2 separate regions of the Homo sapiens genome follow, and region 2 is linked to region 1. Evidence: promoter capture Hi-C in 16 types of primary human blood cells and fetal thymus (Javierre and others, 2016). All regions are on one chromosome and are shown on one strand. The core of a region is centred on a gene start or on the middle of the fragment in contact, and the rest is flanking DNA. Distances in the headings are between cores, read along the strand shown.

Evidence for each region. Contacts are between HindIII fragments. The CHiCAGO score rates a contact against its expected background, and 5 or more counts as called.
Region 2: a contact is called between a fragment that was not itself captured here and the fragment with the promoter of HUS1 in region 1, in 3 of 17 cell types (total CD4 T cells, fetal thymus and naive B cells). The highest score is 9.1, in total CD4 T cells.

The regions. Positions count from the first base shown.
Region 1 is chr7:47,975,986-47,983,869 of GRCh38, reverse strand. HUS1 (HUS1 checkpoint clamp component) reads left to right here and starts at 4,255. Exons shown (of 8, transcript NM_004507.4): 1 at 4,255-4,402; 2 at 5,054-5,181; 3 at 5,277-5,453; 4 at 7,033-7,140. The coding sequence starts at 4,351. LOC105375270 (a long non-coding RNA gene) reads right to left here and starts at 1,428. Exons shown (of 3, transcript XR_927251.3): 1 at 735-1,428. RefSeq lists an enhancer at 4,185-4,474 and silencers at 4,545-4,604, 4,685-4,734. The HindIII fragment of the contact is 1,329 bases long and covers 3,750-5,078 here.
Region 2 is chr7:42,920,400-42,928,283 of GRCh38, reverse strand. It overlaps PSMA2 (proteasome 20S subunit alpha 2), which reads left to right. Exons shown (of 8, transcript NM_002787.5): 2 at 825-901; 3 at 1,616-1,748; 4 at 3,487-3,609; 5 at 4,878-4,959; 6 at 6,353-6,426. Among named protein-coding and RNA genes, the nearest start is that of PSMA2, 7.8 kb to the left of the region's middle. The HindIII fragment of the contact is 5,758 bases long and covers 1,224-6,981 here.

The sequences.
Region 1 (7,884 bases), core at 3,006-5,505:
AAATAGGCTTTGCCTGTTCCATTTGGTTGGTCTTCATTTATTTCCACACTATCAATTGTTTTCCTGAAGGTCAAGTGTAAATAGAGCTGGTCCAGTCAGCAGGAGCATGTGGGTCACTGGACACTCAGCAATCCAGTGATGCAGATTCTCATCAAGAGTGTGAGGTAGGGCATGCCATGGCCAACATTGCCAATTCTATCTGTCCCCATCTTTAAAATGGGAATAATAGGCCGAGCATTGTGGCTCACACCTGTAATCCCAGCACTTTGGGAGGCTGAAGCAGGCAGCTCACCTGATGTCATGAGTTTGAGACCAGCCTGGCCAACACAGTGAAACCCCATCTCTACTAAAAATACAAAAAATGGTCTGGGTGTAGTGGCAGGTGCCTGTAATCCCAGCTACTCGGTAGACTGAGGCAAAAGAATCACTTGAACCCAGGACTCAGAGGTTGCAGTGAGTCGAGATTGCACCATTGCACTCCAGCTTGGGCAACAAGAGCAAGACTCCATCTAAAATAAAATAAAATAAAATAAAATGGGAATAATCATACTTATTTTACGTGTGTTTATATTATCTAAGTGATGATATCAGTGCAGAGTGCTATAAAATGAGAGCTATCTATCTCACCCTACTGATCAATAATATTTAAATAGTGCTTTAAAGGCATCCAATAAATGTTGATCACCCTCCTCTTGAGTAGGGGCTGGTCCCCTTCCTTAATCCCCATCACTCACCACCATGCCTGACACTTCTCATGTGCTCCACAAATCTTCATTTAGAAAAGTATCTATGGAATTTATTGAAGAATTTTTTTGACACCTAAAAGAGGAGAAGAGTCTTTGAAGAGCTGCTTAAGCAAAAACCCATCTCTTAGAACAAGTACAGTTGTCAAAAGACATTCACTCATGCCACCTCTAGGGTATGCTTTCCTTCATTTTACAGTTTTCTCATGTTAAAAAAAGAAGACAAATACTGCCTTTCAAATTTGATGCGTAACATGTGAGCTAGTCACGTTGTTTCCCTTGGGTAATTTTTCCAACATTAACTGCTAACAACAGGGCTGCAAATTGCTGTCTCTTCCCCCAGGGACTAGAGAAGATGAGTAAGTACCTGAAAGAGACTGGCCAAATACTTACCTAGACAGAGTTTACCATCTGCAGCTGTAGAGAGGTTATTTCCCTTACTTCCAACTATATGCATCCTGAATGACATTTTATTTGCACCACTGTTTATTTCAGTTTCTAAGACAAGATTAAGGCATTTACCTCCCCACTAAACAAACTTAATGAACAGCGTGAACACTGTTTCCCAAATCATTGTGTGACTGAATTACTAATCCCTGACATTTGGCAGTTCTTAAGTCAGAAGGCAATTTACTGTAGCTAGATGAGAACATGAATATACATTGCATTAGAAAACTCAGTGGTACATGGGGCTTCTAGAAATCTCTAGAGATCACATTCCTTGCCTCAAAATCATTTGGAAAGTAGAGAAGTAGTGTCAATATACTTAATTGTCAATTCTGAAGTTAATGAATTAATTTGCTAAACCTGTTTAAGAAAATTGCAAGAGCACATAAAAGATTCCTTTCTTCTTCCAAGAAAAGATAATTGCAGCTTTATTTTCTATTTCTTGAGTCAAATTCCTATATTATTTGGGCTTTTGTCCATGCAGAATGTATCATATCACATCTTCTTAGGAAGTTTAAAAAATTGCTTTATCAGTTTTTATGACATAAAATTAAGCAATTTACACTAAAGATCAAGATGTTACAAAACATTGTTTACAAAGTTTATTTAGATACATTCTTTAATTATATTCATTTATCTACTAGCAGCCACTTTATTTAATGTGATGCTCAACTCTTCAAAACTCATTCATGAGGAAATTAAAAAACAGGCTTTTTCCTGCAGATCATATGGGGCAAATAAAAAATGTTGGCATGGCCGGGCTCAGTGGCTCACGCTTGTAATCCCAGCACTTTGGGAGGCCGAGGCGGGCGGATCACGAGGTCAGGAGATCGAGACCATCCTGGCTAACACGGTGAAACCCCGTCTCTACTAAAAATACAAAAAATTAGCCGGGCGTGGTGGCGGGCGCCTGTAGTCCCAGCTACTCGGGAGGCTGAGGTAGGAGAATGGCGTGAACCCGGGAGGCGGAACTTGCAGTGAGCCGAGATTGCGCCACTGCACTCCAGCCTGGGCGACAGAGCGAGATTCCGTCTCCAAAAAAAAAAAGAGTTATGCCAACATTTTTTTTTTTTTTTGAGACGGAGTCTCGCTCTGTCGCCCAGGCTGGAGTGCAGTGGCAGACCTCTGTTCACTGAAATCTCCGCCTCCTGGGTTCAAGTGATTCTCCTGCCTCAGATTCCTGAGTAGTTGGGATTACAGGCACAAGCTATCACGCCGGGCTAATTTTTGTATTTTTAGTAGAGACGGGGTTTCATCATGTTGGCCAGGCTGATCTCAGACTCCTGACCTCAGATGATCCACCCGCCTCGGCCTCCCAGAATGCTGGGATTACAGGAGAGAGCCATCCTGCCCTGCCTGTTGGCATAACTTTGAAAGTGATCTATTAAGTTTGGTTTGGCAAACACTCGCATATGACAATGAAGATTAGAATTTTGCTTCATGTTATAGTCTTAAAATAGGCAAAAACTGCAATTTTTGTATTTTGCACCTTTTTATTATTATTACACTTTAAGTTCTAGGGTACATGTGCACAACGTGCAGATTTGTTACATAGGTATGCATGTGCCATGTTGGTGTGCTGCACCCATCAACTCATCATTTACATTAGGTATTTCTCCTAACGCTATCCCTCCCCCAGGCCTCCACCCCCCAACAGGCCCCAGTGTGTGATATTCCCCTCCCTGTGTCCATGTGTTCTCATTGTTCAACTCCCACTTATGAGTGAGAACATGCGGTGTTTGGTTTTCTGTCCTTGTGATATTTTGCTGAGAATGATGGTTTCCAGCTTCATCCATGTCCCTGCAAAGGACATGAACTCATCCTTTTTTATGGCTGCATAGTATTCCATGGTGTATATGTGCCACATTTTCCTTATCCAGTCTATTATTGATGGACATTTGGGATGGTTCCAAGTCTTTGCTATTGTGAATAGTGCCACAATAAACATATGTGTGCATGTGTCTTTGAAAATTATCTGGGCCTGGCGCGGTGGCTCACGCCTATAATCCCAGCACTTTGGGAGGCCGAGGTGGGCAGATCACCTGAGGTCAGGAGTTCGAGACCAGCCTGGCCAACATGGCGAAACCCCGTCTCTACTAATAATACAAAAATTAGCCGGGCATGGTAGCTTGTGCCTGTAATCCCAACTACTTGGGAAGCTGAGGCAGGAGAATCCCTCGAACCCGGGAGGTGGAGGTTGCAGTGGGCCAAGATCACGCCATTGCACTCCAGCCAGGGCGACAGAGCCAGACTCCGTCTCAAAATCATCATCATCATCATCTGCATTATCATTATCTTGATTCTATGTGTCAAGTTAAAGACAAGGTTCTAGTCTATTTGCAAAGGACATTAAAAATAACAATTGTTAACACAGATAATCTTTAGTCTTTGAAAAACCAAATTAGATACAATTGTTGCTTCATTTCCCCCTTTAAAATTTTTCCTTTAAAAAAAATCCTAATGACATTATTTATGCTAATAAGAATTTTATCGGATGTAATAAAGTTCGTCTTGAGGCAAACTGCAGAATTATCACTTAACGTCAGTGTTCTTTAAGCTTCCCGACTTTACCAACTAGCCAGTAATATGTTCAATTTTTTTAGAAGTCATTTGAAACAATTTTCAGAACCTTAATCCACCAAGATGCTTCAATACCAAAGTACCAGTACCGTCATCTGAGGCTGGAGGGTTTAAAGCTGCTCTACCTTAGGTATATTTAAGATAATATTGTTTAACCTTTATAAACGATTAATTTTATTTGGATATTTTAAAATAACACTTGAAATAGGTGTCACAAAATTCTTTCAAAACGTGAATTCTCAGAACAACCTCCCCGAATCTGGGGCTTGAAGCCTCCGCCTCACTAAAAGTAGATCCCACCATTACCCGGCAGCGCGGAGGCATACCCGGAGACTGGGACCCCCACCTCCCCCGGGGCGTGACCTGTGATCCTTGACCCGTGACCCCACCTCCTCTAGGGCGTGACCCCCTAGCCCCACCTCCTCCGGGGCGTGGCCCGGAGATAACCCTGGTAAGAGTCGCGTAGCCCGAGCCGGGCGGAACCACTGTTCGCGCTGCCGTGTTTCCGGGCGGGGACACTCAGGGCGCGACGCTTTTCTGTTACCCACAGAGGCCCGCCGCGGCTGCGCCATCCGCGGCCATGAAGTTTCGGGCCAAGATCGTGGACGGGGCCTGTCTGAACCACTTCACACGTGAGCAGGGAGGCCGGAGAGGAGCGAGGGAGGAACGGAAGGAAGCAGTGAGCGCGCGGTGGGGACCGCGCAGGAGGATCAGAACGGGGATGGGCGCCGGAAGGGGCCGCGGGAGGATGGGGCCGGGATGGGGGTGCTGGTGTAGGCCGCGGGAGGGTGGGGCCGGGAGGGCGCGGGGCGGGTCGGAGGGCACTTGTGGGGATGAAGGCGGCTTTCAAGGGACGTTTCTGAAACTTGATTCCGATCACGTGGCTTTAAAAAAAAGCGGCCACTGCTCCCATAGACGGCTTTATCAGGCATTGACATACCTTCAAGGCCCCATTCGTCCCTCCACCCTGACAGTGCCTAACCTTGCATTTAACTGTGTATTGCAGTACCTAGTAGTCAATAAATCCATGTTGAATGAATGAATGACTGGTAGGTGCCTGTTTTCTTATTTGAACACTGATGATGTGTGCTGTACATCTCCCCTAGTTTGTTGGGAGAATTGCGTGACATCAGGGGTATTAAAGTACTTTCCAGTGTGATACCAACGTTAAGTGGTTATTTTTCCACCGAGAAGTTGATGAACAAGAAATTCTGCAAAATAAGTTGGTCTCTAGGATACATAATGTGCATTTTAGTAATTCCTTATTTTAACCCCTGCTTTAGGAATCAGTAACATGATAGCCAAGCTTGCCAAAACCTGCACCCTCCGCATCAGCCCTGATAAGCTTAACTTCATCCTTTGTGACAAGCTGGCTAATGGAGGAGTGAGCATGTGGTGTGAGCTGGAACAGGTGAGCAAAAGCTTCTGAGAGGCCTGCACACTCTGCAGATTGTCACTGGAAAGATCACATATACCCTCCCTCATCCCTCATTTTTTTTCCCTTAGGAGAACTTCTTCAACGAATTTCAAATGGAGGGTGTCTCTGCAGAAAACAATGAGATTTATTTAGAGCTAACATCGGAAAACTTATCTCGAGCCTTGAAGACTGCCCAGAATGCCAGGGCTTTGAAAATCAAACTGACTAATAAACACTTTCCCTGCCTCACGGTCTCCGTGGAGCTGGTGAGTAGGAGAGTCAGGGTTTCTAACACAGAAGTCTTGGCCTCGAAGGAATAGACATAGTTAGCCTAGCCTTTTTAACAATAAATACTGTTGAAAGCTGTTTGGTTTATTTAAATTTAAAGATCTGGTCCATAACTATATTTTGCATTAGAGTCAGTTCCTCCTCATTTTAAAATTGTGTTGTTATCATATGCATTCAGCTAGAATGCTGCTTTTTCCAAGCCGTGAAACTTCCAGCCTCTCTGTTTCTTGTAGTGGTATTGTCACCTTGTCTAGAAATCATGGTTTCTCTATCCATTTTCACCTTTGACATGTTTTCTCCCCACTCCCACCCTGCCTCATCTGCTATAATAACCTTTAAATGGCCCCTCGTTCTTCAGTACACGTATGTTTTATATGCTACTGCCAGATGAATTTAGTGCACAGCTGTCCTCCAAACACACAAATACACAAACTCATGCGCATACATACAATCCAGAGTTGCTCTTCCTACTCATAGAATGAGGTTCGTATTTCCTTTTTTTTGAGACGGAGTCTCTCTATCACCCAGGCTGGAGTGCAGTGGCGCGATCTCGGCTCACTGCAACCTCCATCTCCCGGGTTCAAGCGATTCTCATGCCTCAGCCTCCTGAGTAGCTGGAATTACAGGCACCCACCACCACACCCAGCTAATTTTTGTATTTTTTTAGTAGAGTCGGGGTATCACCATATTGGCCAGGCTGGTCTCGAACTCCTGACGTCAAGTGATCCACCTACCTCGGCCTCCCAAAGTGCTGCGATTGTAGGCATGAGCCACGGCGCCCAGCCCAGCTTTTCTTCATAACTCTCAACTCTTTGCAGTCAGGCAGTTCTCAGAGCTAATTAGGGCATTTCATGTCACAGTATAAGTTTGGTATGTTTTTTCTATTGCTTAAGGAAAAGCAAGATAGTAACGTATAATACTTTTTGTCCAAAAGTGCAAGATATTTTGGTCTGTGAGTCTCATAGGAGCCCCTAGAAATAAATATAGTTTGCCTTTTAACTGTTAGAAACTGCAGCACTCTGAGTGTCCTATGCCCAAAGAATGGCCTTCTCTTGGTTGCGTCAACATAGCAGGCTTGCTTCTTTCTGCCTCACGGCTTTACATGTGCTGTTTCCCCAGCCTGAAACCCTGTCCCCTTGTTCTTGTCTTCCCATGGCTGCTGCTTCTCCTGCTTTTGGTGGTATCTGAAATGTCACCTCCTCAGTCTAAGGAAACTCCCCCACACTCACCCTGGTCTCTGTGGAGTGCTTTCTCACGGCTATAATGAGCATTTCATACAGTTTCATTTGTTTGCATTTTTATTGATCTGTTTGTTCCACTGGAACACTAAGGACCTTTTTGTCTTATCACCACACTTCCCAGTTCCTGGAAGTACCCAGAGTCTGTTCCATAAATATTGGCACCATCAATATTGGTCGAATGGCTTTTGAGTGAATAAACTGACAGCATTCCACTTAGATTTGGTATTTCAACTTTTTTGTCCCGGGTCTTCGGGTTTGTTTTGTTGTTGCTTAATATTAACAACATAAAAATATTTTTAAATTCTTTTCTTGGCAGTTATCTATGTCAAGCAGTAGCCGCATTGTGACCCATGACATCCCCATAAAGGTGATTCCTAGGAAATTGTGGAAGGACTTACAAGAACCGGTGGTCCCAGATCCTGATGTAGGTGATGCCTGCAGTCCTGCTGTACACCCCACATTAAATGGCATGACTTGAATTCTCTAGTTTTAGTTGTAGTCTTGCAGTATATTTTATTTTTAAAGGATACTTAACGAAAACATTAGATTATTTGCCTTTTGTTATTTACATAAAGCATCTTAAAAATGTTGCATATGATAGAAATGTCATGCCATCCTATATGTAGAAAATGTCTCGCTCAGTAACATCACTTAAAACACAAATGATACTTTTGGAGGACAATTAGTATTTATTAGTATTCTTGGCCTTAGACACCAATTTGGGTTTCACAGGACTTGATCTTTTCCTCAGCCGGTCAGGAGCGATATCTGGATGTGCACGAAAGCCAAGAAGAGAAGAATTTCATGGCTTAGGGCTAACATGGGGTAACGGTCATGCCGATGGTTAACCCTAGAGCTCCTGAAAGTAAAGATGATGCCAAAGGGCCCATTTCCTCTTGCTCACAATTTGTTTAAGAAGAAAGTACAGAAATATGCTGGGTAAAATAATTACTTGACTTTTACTAGATGGCACCTACACTGATTTTGAAAAAGCCTGTGTTTTATAGAGCACTCTTGGTAACAGTCTCAGATGTGATGCAGTGACTGTCTGCCATGTTTTTGTACAGAGCATGGAAAAGGCCCTTGAATCATAGGTGTAAATGTCCCTTAGAGGAGGGCCTCCTGCTGATTGCCTGAGTTATATTCCCCCTGGACCAATATAGGGGCA
Region 2 (7,884 bases), core at 2,853-5,352, 5.1 Mb after region 1:
GTTACTGATTTTATGCCAGACAGTTTTATAGGAATTACTTCACTTAATCACAACAATGCTTTGAAATAGGTACAGGACACTTGTAGGGGACGGTGATTTCAGTACCCCCACAAATACCAAGTGAGGGCGTATTCAAGTCCTGTAGTCAGCCCTGTGGAATCCACTGATACGGAAAACCAGTTGTGGTTACTGTGTCCTCATTTTACAGGTGAGAAAACAGGCATAGAAAACTTAGGGTGAAAAGAAGCAACAGTAATACCACTGCTCCATGTGGCAGACAAAAAACAACCAAAGAGAAAGTAGTGCTTCAGTAGGAGTATGTTCCAATTGCCTTGTAAACTTGGTTTCTTTCTTTCTGTCTTTCTCTTTTTTTTTTTGAGACGAGGTTTCGGCCTTGTTGCCCAGGCTAGAGTGCAATGGTGCAATCTTGGCTTACTGCAACCTCCACCTCCCGGATTCAAGCAATTCTCCTGCCTCAGCCTCCCAAGTAGCTGGGATTACAGGCATGCACCACCATACCCGGCTAATTTTTGTATATTTAGTAGAGACAGGGTTTCACCATGTTAGTCAGGCTGGTCTCGAACTCCTGACCTCAGGTGATCCACCCGTCTTGGCCTTCCAAAGTGCTGGGATTACAAACTTGAGTCATTGCGCCCAGCTGTAAACTTGGTTTCTGTGCCACTTCATGATAGAGGTCAAAGGCCAGTTACTCCCTGGAGTTGGATAAATTGGATTTGACCTGTATGTCTGTACTATCTCAGAGATGTTCTTACAATAAATATTTGATGATATGTGAACTTACAAATACCTGTGTTTCTTTTAAGCCCGTCTGGTAAACTTGTCCAGATTGAATATGCTTTGGCTGCTGTAGCTGGAGGAGCCCCGTCCGTGGGAATTAAAGGTAATGAAATGCTTCATTCATTTCAGATGCCTGTTAGTAGTTATCCTAATTATTTTGGAATTCATTAGTAATTAATTTATACAGAGCTGCAGCAGTATAATTTTTAACAATTTTTTGTTAATTTACAGTGTTTTGGAGTTTAAATAGTAATAAGTCTAAGGTCATTCAAATTTCTTTTCAAAGTAAATAGTAACACCTTTATCTGTTAGTTGTGATATTCACAATAGTCTTTCTCATTCAGAAAACTGAGTTCTTTTTTTGTTTTTCCACTGATTATATCACTACTTCCTGGCAGTTTTTATCCTTATAATTTAGGAAAGCTTAATTATAAAACATAAGCTAAATGTGTTGTGTTTCACTTTAAAAGCCTGTATCATTTATTGTAAATTTCATGTTATAAGAATATTGGGACAAGTAGACAGAAATCCCTTATTTTAAAACATGTGAACTCTCAGGTATCCTTAGAGTGCTTTACAAAAGTTTATGTAATACCTTTAGCTGTAGGGAGGATTTTTTTGTGTAGTACTAAATGACCAGTGAGGGAAAAACTGACTTACCATTTCTTAGGTAATTTTGGTAATAGGACTCCGGAAGAAAAGGTTTTATAAATTAAAGGAAATAAAGGAGTTTGCGTTTAGCGCATCCATAATTAGAAAGCTGTTAAAACAGTCTTAAAAATGATTAAACATTTATGTCTCTCTCTTTTTTTTTAAGCTGCAAATGGTGTGGTATTAGCAACTGAGAAAAAACAGAAATCCATTCTGTATGATGAGCGAAGTGTACACAAAGTAGAACCAATTACCAAGCATATAGGTTTGGTGTACAGTGGCATGGGCCCCGATTACAGGTACTTTATACTTTTTATAGTGTTTCTCACCATCTCATGAATTGATTGTAATCTGTATTTTCAGGAGAAAAACCAAGGTTGTTTTCCTTTAATCTTCCAGTTCCTCTTTTTTTGTGTGCTTTGTTTAGCAATAGCAGCCTCGTTGAGAGCTGAATTTAGTTTGCCTGTATAGGTTACTTTAAAGAGAATAACTCAGATGTGAAAGAGGAGGTAGATAGATTACATAACTCCTCTTTTCTCTGTTCAGCGGACTTTCTCTTCTGACATATTCCTCTTCTACTATCCAGGAACTGGGCGTAAGGGCTTTAGTTTTCGCCAGTGCAGTTTAAAAATGATAAAAGCAATTTAAGTTATAATAAACTATATTTTAAAAAGTATGAGGCAACAAAAGAAAGTATCACTATCCAGAGTTATCTTTTTTCCTGTTCTTCACAAAGGAACAAAATTCTCAAACACCACTGCAAGTTGTTGAGTGTGGCAGCCAACCAGGATCCCAATGCTTGTGTAATCACCCCCTTTATATTTCACAGGAAGAGAGAATAATCTTGTTACTCAGGGTACCAGCAAGTTGAAAGAGATTGACAGCTTTCTGTGTCTGTCATTTAAACAAGTAAAAGGAGTATTACTTTATTGCTCATGATTTTGTGGAGCAAGATAGGTAGAGGCAAAGTTTCACTTCAGTGAATCAACGCAACAAGGTCAGTGGAATGTGATCAGGCAGTGAATCTTGTCACCACTATATAGGCTGGATACTGCATTGTGCTGCCACTGATAGGATAAACTGAGGGATGGGACATGACTGTCACACAGAGGGAAAATGTGCATATTTCAGATCAGTAGTATATGAGCTGGCAAAGATAAATCCTATTTGTCTTGCTAATATATTTGATTGTTATATAATATCTTCTTAATCTCTTTTGACAAATTTTACTTCTGAAAAAAAATTTTAAGAGACAGGGTCATGCTGGGTATTGCTTTTATCATTTTAAACTGCACTGGAGAAAACTAAAGCCTTATGCCCAGTTCCTGTATAGTAGAAGAGGAATATGTCAGAAAGGAAAGTCCATTAAACAGAGAAAAGAGGAGTTATGTACTCTATCTCCCTCCTCTTTCACATCTGAGTTATTCTCTTTAAAGTAACCCAGGGTCTTGCCCAGGCAGGTCTGAAACTCCTGGCCTCAAGTGATCTTCCTGCCTCAGCCTTTTAAAGTGTTGGGATTACAGGCGTGAAACACTGCACCTAGCCGAATTTTACATTTTTAGTTACAAGTAGTTTCTTACTGTTTCTTAATCTCTGAAGGGTACTCCGTGAAGCACAGGCAGAGAGATTGAAACAGTCTGCAGAAAGTAGTGACCTGAAGTGAGAAAAATATGCCCAGAATTGTGTGCCTGTGTGTTTATGTGTGCTTGTGTGTGTGGGCTGGGGTGAGCTGTAAAAAGACAAGCGGCTGCCCTTGGATGGGGGTACAGTCTTGAAGAAGCCGTGGAGCAAGATAAAGTTCTCATTTTTGTACATTAAATCTGTTACTTTTAAGCTAACTGGTACTCTGATGCTCTGATATTTTCTTCTATATCAACTGGAATCCAGTGTTAGAGTAAGACTAGCTTTGATCCAATAGCCACCATTAAAGAGATACATGTTAAACTTGTGCTGCAGGTACATGCCTGTAAAAGGAGAATGAGTCTTCAGGTAGTAGAGCATGTTCTGTGTAATTAAATCTTATTTTTTCCTTGTTAGAGTGCTTGTGCACAGAGCTCGAAAACTAGCTCAACAATACTATCTTGTGTACCAAGAACCCATTCCTACAGCTCAGCTGGTACAGAGAGTAGCTTCTGTGATGCAAGAATATACTCAGTCAGGGTAAGTTGCTTTTTTTACTTGAAATGTGCCATGAATTGTAGGGGGAAGTTATTTTAAAGAGTAGGTATATAAATAGAGTGGGACTTACCATTTCTGTATTTGCTTAACAAGTGGACAGAATCACTATGATGAATATTTCTGATCTTATCTGGCTCTGGAGTATTTATTTAAGGAAAAAAATGTGTTTTCTTGTTGCTTATGTAACAGCAGAAAGCAGCTTCTAGATATACAAAGTTCTTTTGCCAGTGATTAAAACACTTTATGGACAGACAATCATTGCAACTTTAAATTTTTCTTTTTTTTTTTTTTTTTTTTTTTTTTGAGTCAGAGTCTCACTCTGTCGCCCAGGCTGGAGTGCAATGGCATGATCCCGGCTCACTGCAACCTCTGCCTCCTGGGATCAAGCAATTATGCGTCAGCCTCCTGAGTAGCTGGCACCACAGGCGTGCATCACCATGCTTAGCTAATTTTTTTTTTTTTTTTGTATTTTTTTGGTAGAGATGTGGTTTCACTATGTTGGCCAGGCTGGTTTCAAACTCCTGACCTCAAGTGATCTGCCTGTCTTGGCCTCCCAAAGTGTTGGGACTGTGCCTGGCCGCTACTTTCAAATTTATCTTTCTAACCAGAAATGATGGTAAGCACATGATGAAAGCAGCTCTTGGACGTATTCATATTTCTTTTCATTCCCCAGTTTCTTAAGTTTGGGTGTAGATGAGATAGCATATAGGTAGTTGTTGATACGTAAACCTAGTGGAAAAGCTGCATTAACTGAAAGTTGTCATTTTGTAATAGGTAAACCTAGTGGAAAAGCTGCATTAACTGAAAATTGTCATTTTGTAATAGGTAAACCTAGTGGAAAAGCTGCAGTAATTGAAAGTTGTCATTTTGTAATAGGTAAACCTAGTGGAAAAGCTGCATTAACTGAAAGTTGTCATTTTGTAATAGGTAAACCTAGTGGAAAAGCTGCATTAATTGAAAGTTGTCATTTTATTAGGACACTAAATGTTACTACACACTTATTAACCCCAGTGTCTTAGGTAACACTGTTCAATTCAAATTTTTTTTTATTTGGCTACCATTCCTCACTACCATAAAGAGAATTAGTTTTGAATTGATTCATTCAGAAAGGTGTTAAATACTTTCTAAGGAACTTAAAAGTCTAATTCAGTTTGCCTGATAATTTGCTTTATTTGAGAGTACTGATAAATTCTTGAGGATGACTTTAACACCATGAAAATGCCAAGTAATTTTCATTTTCCTCCCTGCAGTGGTGTTCGTCCATTTGGAGTTTCTTTACTTATTTGTGGTTGGAATGAGGGACGACCATATTTATTTCAGTCAGATCCATCTGTAAGTATCATTTAATGTATTTGAGGGATTTGTTAAAAGTGCTCTTTGAATATCTAACAGAAATAGAAGCCATAAAAACTTTACAATTTAGCAGTATTTTCTTCTTTTCTCTTGGGCTTTAGAAAGTATGAGGTTGTGCATTTTTGTGTGTATATTTAAAATTTTGGTAATTTGGTCTTCTGATAAGGAAGCTGTATTAGTTCTACCCTCTTTTGCCATGTTCATTAACTTCATACACTTGGGTGATTTGTTGAAATAGTTATCAAATGTATTTAAACCTGTTACTTCGGGAAATACTGCAATTGAAGATGTGGATCTGGAGGACAGTGTTGTAGTGTTTGCCATCAGTTGAATCTTGGGGCTGACTTGAGTGAGTTTTCCAGCAAAAACATTAATTTATCTTGAATTCAGTGTTTTGCAAAAATGATTGTGTAATTGGTACCTTGGGTAAGTTGTCTGCTCTAATGCAGAAGAATGGTATCTGAATAGAAGGTGTTTGTAATGGATAATACTACTCCACATCTGTCCCATTTGCTATGAGAACCTTAAGACAAAATTCAAGATTAGGAAATGATCTTTCATGTTTTATGGATTATTAGATAATTACAGGTTCACTCAATGCAAACCTTATAATCTACTTTTATAACCTGAGATGGCAAAAGAAAAATATTTTGGTTGTTAATTAAATCAGAAAAATAAGTATTTTGGGAACTTTGATAGTGTTGTTACTCCATCTCTGAGCTTCCAAAGCTAAATGACAGGCCCTCTTATCTTCCTTTCCAGAAGGTAGCAGAAGCCACCATTTCTGGAATCCTGATTTTATCTTTTGTCCTATTTTCCTCTGTTGTGTCTAAAAAACAATTGTTTTCATTTAAAACATATTGGATTATGTTTCTTTTGGTATTTTTTTCTAATGAGATGCTCTCTTTTTAATTCACTAATGATCAAGAGTTGATCACCATTTTTCAGATTTATATGATAGATTTTTAAATCGCTTCAGTCTATTAAACTAAAATACTACTCTTGATTATTTGCTTTAAGTTAACCTCAATTTCTTTTAACTGGATTTTTTACATAATTTTACACTTAATTGCATCATCACCAGCTCATCAGTTTGATGAGTTCTGATATATGTAAATGCCTGAAGAAACCATTACTACAATGAGGATATCAAAAATTTCCAGAACCTCCAAAAGTTTCTTCATGCCTTTTTGGTTTCCATCCTTCTAGCCTTCTTAAAAAATAACCTATTCTGTGACGTTTTCCATTCTAATAATATTCTGTGACCTTCGAAGTTAGAGAACAATTAATAAAGCTAAAAATTAAATGGCAGGGCAATATAATTGTATTTGTGTTTTAAAATATGGTTTTTTACTCTTTCTTTCCTGATTAGGGAGCTTACTTTGCCTGGAAAGCTACAGCAATGGGAAAGAACTATGTGAATGGGAAGACTTTCCTTGAGAAAAGGTAGGCCTACTCATTGTAACTGCATTCTTTAGCAAACTCACTTTATGGTTTTTGGTGCTCTTTAAGTAAATTAATATCATGGGACTAAAGAAACTTGCTATATTACTCTGTATATGAATCTAGTTACAGATAAACCAAAAACTTCTCTCCCTTCTAGTTTCCTAGACTTCAGTATATTAAGTGGTAATTAATATTCATTTCCTAAGGAGTTCTCTTTCTACATTCTATGGTTTCCTAAATGCTTTTGGTTTTTTTACTTTTTACTTCACTTTTTGTGCCATTTCAGGAGGGAAAAAAAAGAACATTGAATCTGGAATAAAACATTTGGGGAGACAAATTTTTAAATGATTTAATGATAACAGTTTACGACAGTAAAAAAAATTGTGAAACCAAATGCCTGGAGTTGAAGGTATATTAAATATTTGATACATGTGCTTGATAAAAAGTGGAGCACTATGTAAAAATCTGTCGGTGCCCAAGTACAAGCTGCTCTTACTTATTTCCAGCTGTATTCTAGTCTCAGTGTTACTGTAGTCCTTCGGGACTCTCCAAGCTTTTGAAGAAGAAAATGTTTTATTTCTTGATATGTAATAGTTGCACATATTTTTGCAGTACATGTGATATTTTGATACCTGTATACAGTGTCAAATCAGGGTAATTGGATATCCATTACCTCAAACATCTGTCTTTTCTTTGTGTTGGGAACATAGCAGATCTTCTAGCTGTTCTGAAATATACAGTAAATTGTTAACGATAATTTCCTGACTGTACTACTGGACACCAGAACTTATTCCTCCTGTCTGACCGTATTTTTAGACCCCTTAACCAACTTCCTTCAGTTCTTCTTCCCTTCTCCCTTCCCAGCCTCTGGTAACCACTGTGCTACTCTCTCCCTCCATGAGATCCACTTTTTTAGCTCCCACATATGAGTGACAACATGCAATATTTATCTTTCTGTGCCTGGCTTATTTTGCTTAACGTAATGACCTCGAGTTCCATCCATGTTGCTGCAAATGACAGGATTTCATTTTTTTATGGCTGAATAATAATAAAAAACTTCGTAACTCCGTTTAACAGATGAGCCTTCACAGTACATTTTTCACGTAACGTTAAGGTTATTAAAAATCTTAGGCCTGGATTTAAATGGTAAACTTAATCTTAGGCTCTTAAAGCACTTTTTCATTTTTCTTTTATATATTAATGAGTCTTCCAAAGATTTCACATTGTTATTACATGATATGTTATGATTTGTTTTATTTTTTGTTTCAGAGGCATTTTATTTAGACAACTAAAAATAATTAGATGTTCAGAACCAGTGTACAATGAAAGAAATTAAACCAGTTACTTTATCATGTATTCCCTCTTTACAACCAAAGCAAAAAACAATAGCAACAAAGACATTCTGCTTTAAGGGAAAAGTCAGACAAATAAGCCAATATATTTTTCTTCTCCATAATG